Regions from separate parts of the Homo sapiens genome. Here region 1 is linked to region 2. The links are contacts of gene promoters, found by promoter capture Hi-C in blood cells and fetal thymus (Javierre and others, 2016). All regions are on one chromosome and are shown on one strand. The core of a region is centred on a gene start or on the middle of the fragment in contact, and the rest is flanking DNA. Distances in the headings are between cores, read along the strand shown.

Evidence for each region. The method cuts DNA at HindIII sites, captures the fragments that hold promoters and counts their contacts. A CHiCAGO score of 5 or more calls a contact.
Region 1: a contact is called between a fragment that was not itself captured here and the fragment with the promoter of TEDDM1 in region 2, in 1 of 17 cell types (naive CD8 T cells). The highest score is 5.2, in naive CD8 T cells.

The regions. Positions count from the first base shown.
Region 1 is chr1:181,493,032-181,496,259 of GRCh38, forward strand. The region is part of intron 1 of CACNA1E (calcium voltage-gated channel subunit alpha1 E); the gene reads left to right. Among named protein-coding and RNA genes, the nearest start is that of CACNA1E, 11 kb to the left of the region's middle. The HindIII fragment of the contact is 1,401 bases long and covers 787-2,187 here.
Region 2 is chr1:182,399,112-182,401,990 of GRCh38, forward strand. It overlaps TEDDM1 (transmembrane epididymal protein 1), which reads right to left and starts at 1,556. Exons shown (of 1, transcript NM_172000.4): 1 at 1-1,556. The coding sequence starts at 1,374. The coding sequence ends at 553. The HindIII fragment of the contact is 8,350 bases long and covers 1-2,879 here.

The sequences.
Region 1 (3,228 bases), core at 237-2,736, 910 kb before region 2:
ATTAAGTCCCTCTAGTACAGTGTTTGTTCATTTGCTTTCTATACTGGGATCACAAATCCTACTGACATCTGGTTGATGCTATAGACCTGTCTCTCCTGAAAAATACACATACAATTTTGCATTCAATTTTAGAGGTCTATGAATCACAATTTAAAAACATCTATCATGTTAAAAAATTCCCACAATTTGGGATGTTGGGATGCTGGGCTATCAGGAGTAGTGATTCTCAACCAAATATCAAAGCCTTTATGAGCAAGTACGACAGGAACTTTATATGAAGGAACTAGAGAGATACGGTTGCACTGGGCTGTCAGCCAGGCTGCTATGAAAGAACACAAACATTCTAACCAAAGGGCATGAATTCAATACAGAAACTCTTTCTACATCACTGTGAAAGACGACTGTCAAGCTGGAATACCTCCAGTGACAGGGTGCTCTTCTGTTGTTAAAAAACTTAAGATATAGGAAGTGGAAATATTCCTCCTTATAGCTTCCATTTGTTCTTTCCCTTCCTGTTTTCTGTTTTGTAAAACAATATAGACTCAGTCTACTTCCTTTCACTTGACAATACTATGGCATTGAACAGCACAGTTGGTGGATTTTTGGTGATGATAGACATGGCTCTTGGCACATGTGGCCCTTAAGGACTTGATATGTGGCTAATGCGACTGAGAACTAAATTTTAAATTTTACTGACTTAATTTTAGTTAAGTTTAAATAGCCACATATGGCTAGTGGCTACTGTACAGGATGGCACAAGCAGAGGGAATACATGATGAGTCAGAAAGCTTAAGCTCCCCTTTGGTTCTGTCATTTGTTAGCCTTGTAACTGGGCAGGGTCTCCTTGGCTTGGTATGCAGGGCTTCTCATGAGCCACTCTGCACATTGCGCCAGCTTTCCTTGACCACTGTAATCACTGTCTCTCCAGCTGCTTCAGTGGCTGCTGATCCCTGAAGGCACCATCCTCTTCCAGGCCTCCGTGCCTTTGCACTTGCTGCTTTTCCACCTAGAATGAGTCTGGCTTTAAGATTGTACTCAGAGGTCACTTCCTCTGTGAAGCCTTCCTTGATTTCTCTTGGCCGAATAAGACCAGCTTCCTCCTTTGGGCTCTCATAGGGCACTTTATTTATTACTTTGTTGTATCACATACCACATAATTTTAGTATTGGTTTAAAATCCCTGCAAGGGAGGGGGGACGTTATCTAATTACCAGATAATAAGGCAATGCTTATTAACATCAGCATTTAACACATTAGTTTGAATTAAAATACTTTTTAAAGTGGTGTTTTTTTTTTTTTTTAAAGAAGTGGCATTCCGTTTCTGACTTGAGATAGTCAGCTAAAATCTCTGAATCTTTTTTTTTATATGAATTGATGACAGAGTTAGTTTTCTCTCACTCTGTTCTCATTCAGTTTAATTTTTGAATCTAGATTCAGGACTCTATGTTTATATCAAGTATATTTTATCTCCTTGCTTTTGCTCCAATGTTTATCCTGCAGAGATCCTTTTCAACTGAGAACAAAGAACTAACATTCATTGAGCATCTACCAAATTTCAGGCTCTACTTCAAACAAGTGTATTATCCACATTTTAAATATGGGGAAGCTGAAGCTAAAGAAGATTAAATCACTTGCCCAAGGTCACCACCGGTGAGCTTGAACAAGTGGTCCGAATCCAAAGTTTAAGTGATTTCTACACCGCACTGTCTATGGACTTTGCTGTTTCATGAGTGAGCTCCCCACCCTAAGTGCTATGTCATCTGCAGATTTATAAGCAAATACTTAATGCTTTCATTTGAGTAATTGATAAAAAATATATTTAGAATCAGGGACCCTCTTTCTGCTTATCATCAGTGTATTAGTCAGTGTGCGTTGACCGTTCAGCTTTTCTCAAGTATTCTGAACTGTGCTTTAGCCTACTGACATTTCTGTATTTTGTCTGTAAAAATATTGTACGCGATATTCTTGTCACATGCTTTACTGAAATCAGTACACACTTTCATGACTACTTCATGTCTATTTTAAGCAGGAGGTAGCATCTTGGTTTCTCCAAAGTCCACTTTAGGTATCATTTTCAGAGACTCAGACAATATTTTATTTCTTTCTTAGACAATAAAAGTGTTGTGTCCTAGATCTCAGGAGTTGAAGGGATATTAGATGTCATCTAGTCCAATGCCCAGTTGATGAAAGCTTCACCTTAGAGTTCAGGATTTACCAGTCTCTGCATGGAAGCTTTAGGGTATTAGGGGGTCGTTGTTAAAAATGACCTCTGGATTCAAATCTCAGTATCACCTCTGTCACTTTATAGCTGTGTGCCTCAGGCAACCTGCTTACCCTTGCAGTGCCTTGGATTTTTCAAATGTAAAACAGAGATAGTAATTTGCTTCTGGGGTGTATCATAGGATTTTTGTGAAGGTCAGATGAGATAATACATGCAAAGTGCTTGGAACAATGTTTGGCAAATAGTAAGCTGTGAATAAATCTTGGTTATTAGTATATGGTTAATTTCAGATACATAAACATTAAACTTCTGCAGCTATGTTTTCTCTTTCCAACAATGCTGTCCTACTTCCTCCTGGCTCTTACCAAGTTTCTAACCTGAGTGCTGCCAGATAATGTTTACGTGACCTTGCATTGGTTTCATCACCTCCCTGAGCCTCAGTGTCTTCAGATGTGAGGTGGAGGTCACTTTCCCTGCTTTGCCTGCCTTATAAGACTGTTGTGAGGTTAGCATTGGCTAATGTGTATGAAAGCCCTTTGCAAACATATTAGGTATTAGTATTAGTGTTAATGTTGATAGAATTTATAAATATATAACACTTATTGAACATTTACTATGTGTCAGAATACTGTGCTAAGTGCTGCCCATGAGTTATTGCATTGATTCTTCATGACAATCCTACAGAGATAGGCATTCTTGTTTTCTGTCTTTCATAGTTAGAAGGATTAAGGTGTGGAGAGGTTAACTCATTTCCCTGAGATCGCACAGTAAGAGCTGGAGGCCTGGATCAGAACTCGTGCTCTTAATCACTGAAGCTAAATAGTCTTTCCATAAGACTTTTTTTCTTCCTTCTCAAAGTTATTGGGTTTACACTTTTAAAAATAAAATTTAAAATATCTACATCAAAACCTGTTTCCTTTATATGTTTCTAATGCTGATTTTATACCAGTATTGTACCTAAGGACATATTTGGATTTACAATCAGAAAAAATATCTTCAGGAGCAATA
Region 2 (2,879 bases), core at 306-2,805:
CAATCCCTTGTGCCTGATGACGCTAATGACAGCATAACTGCTAGACTCTGTTCTCCTCCCTTCACAGCTCTTCCTTTTGTTGCATTCTCTTCCCCCAGTGGCTTTTCTTGCACACTAAGAAGAAGTGTTCTCCTCGTCCTTTTCCCTCCCTCCCGCAAATCCCATCAGCGTCTCTTTCTCAATCCCTCTCCCCTTATCTTCTCAGTAATTAGAGGCTCAGGGACAGAAAATGCACCAGCACGGGCATGGTGGCAGGCTCCTGTAATTGCAGCTACTCGGGAGGCTGAGGCAGGAGAATCGCTTGAACTCGGGAGGCGGAGGTTGCACTGAGCTGAGATTGTGCCATTGCACTCCAGGCTGGGCAACAGAGCGAGACTCTGTCTCAAAAAAAAAAAAAAAGAAAAGAGAAGAAAAGAAAATGAACCAGCAGACGGGACCAACTGCTAGCCTTCAAGGCCATTACCTTTACCAAGGAGGGTACCATGCTCGTGGCTGAGGAGCCAACAGGAGGAAGATGAGGTGGACGATGTGCCAGCCACTGTAGGCCCTGTCTCAGGGGGAGCTCTTTGGAAGGAGGAGAGCCTGGTCCTCTTTCTCTGACTGCTCCACTTCCTGTAGCAACTTGTAGAGGGGTCCTGGAGTGCTTGCATAATATGGAGCTTCTTTGGGCCCAGTCAGCTTCAAGCTGGGTCTGAAACAATGATACCAAAAGGAAGAGAAGCCATAGATTCCCAACAGGAATGAGGCATTGATCATCACATGCCAGCAGAAGAAGGTGGTGACAAACATGATGTCACTGATGTCATCGTCCTGCCATGGGTAGCCAGAGACGGGTCTGTATAGAATAAAGCCTGCCTGCATCAGCCAGGAGCCCATCATCAGAATCAGAAAGGTCTCCATCAGCTGGAGATGACACATGTTGGGAGCCCACAGCTCTGCAGTCAACACCAGCAACAGCAGGAACACCACCAAGATGAGCAGAGAATAAACGTGCAGCTCCACCCCTTCTGAATCTTTAACATGTGACACCATCAGCAGCAGGAGCTCGTAGATGATCAGGACCAGGGTACCTTTTTCTAGGCCCACACACCTCTGAGGCAGCACATTCTTGCTCATGAAGTCCACACAGCCATTAAGAGTGAGGAGGATGAACATGGTGAGGTGCTGCCACTCTTTGGGGTACATGAACCTTGATGGCACTTGCTTCCTCATGAGCACCATCCCGCCATCAAGACAGAGAACCACATAAAATGTTAAGAGGGAGCCAGTCACTATCTTTAGTAATCCTCCATAGGCTATTTTCCACAGCCTGGCACATCTTTGCTTATTCCTGGGAGAGCACAAAGGATACAGGAGACAACCTTTGAGTATCATGCCCTTGGAGACCACTGTGGCCTGATATAGTCCATAAGAGAAAAGAAATAGCCCCAGTTAAAAATGGCCAATGGACTTTCCCATGGAATACAGGCCTGTCCGACTGAAGCGTGAAGAGCAATACTCAGGACCTCTCTGCTCTCCTCTCCCTCACAGGCCTCTCGAGTTCTGGGCCTATATATACAGAGCTAAGTTCTACCTACTTTTATCATCTCCTTCTGCCCACTGCTCTCTCACAGACTGGAAAGTTCTGGACAGGAGCCTAGGTTTTTAGTGAGGTGGGTCTCATTGTTCCATTTCATTCCAGTACACTGGGAACTAATTGAGTTCTGCCAAAGTAGAAACATAAATATTTTTTAGTATGCACCTGTGGGAATTTGTGCTCTCAGGAGCTCTGCTTTTGGACCCTTGAGGACCTTCTGGTTACACTTGTCCCTCTCTCTCATGGCTTGCTTCCTTCTGCCCCTGTTCAATGCTCGGAGTAGAAAAAGAGAGGTGCCTGAGCACGGAGATTATCCAGAGAAGACCCGGGTTACTCACAAACCTTAATGCATCCTTTAAGACTCCTTACTCGGACAGGCATGGTGGCTCAAGCCTGTAATCCCAGCACTTTGGGAGGCCAAGGCAGATCTCGAGGTCAGGAGTTCGAGATCAGCCTGGCCAACATGGTGAAATCCCATCTCCACTAAAAATACAAAAACTAGCTGGGCATGGTAAAGAGTGCCTGTAATCCCAGCCACTTGGAAGGCTGAGGCAGGAGAATTACTTGAACCCGGGAGGCGGATGTTGCAGTGGGCCAGGATCATCTCACTACACTCCAGCCTGGGTGACAGAGCGAGACTGTCTCAAAAAAAAAAAAGACTCCTTACTCATATGTTGGGTCATATACTGAGAGCAAATACATTCTTCCTAGACATAAAAGTTTATAAACGTTTGGATGTGTGCTCATATATATAGATACTGAGCTCTTGTCCTCTTCATTCTTCTGTAACAGTTTTTGGGGATCACAAAGAAAGCAGCTCAATTGCCCCAAATTATCTTTCCAAAGAACAGTAGATGAATGTAAAATGTCACCTTTTGAGATCAATTTTGGAATGTTAAGGTATAATTTTTTATTAAAATGCAGATATGTTGAGATAAGTAGATCCAACAAACTGCTTATATTTTAATGTGAATTAGGTCCTCAACTTTATTCTCTCTTTAATTATCATTTACTATGTGTCTAACACATATAGGCAGAAAGAGTTCTAAGCACTAGGTAGCAGCCAGCTGCATATGAGGGGTTGCATCCAAGGCAAGAGTCTTCATTTATTTATTTTTATTTCTATTTTTATTTTTATTTTTAGACAGTGTCTCGCTTTGTTGCCCAGGTTGCAGTGCAGTGGCTTGATGACGGCTCACTGCAGCCTCAACCTCCTGAGCTCAATCAATCCTCCTGCCTCAGCTGCTGAGTAGCTGGGACAACAGACATGAGCCACCACATCCAGCTATTTTTTGTAGAGATG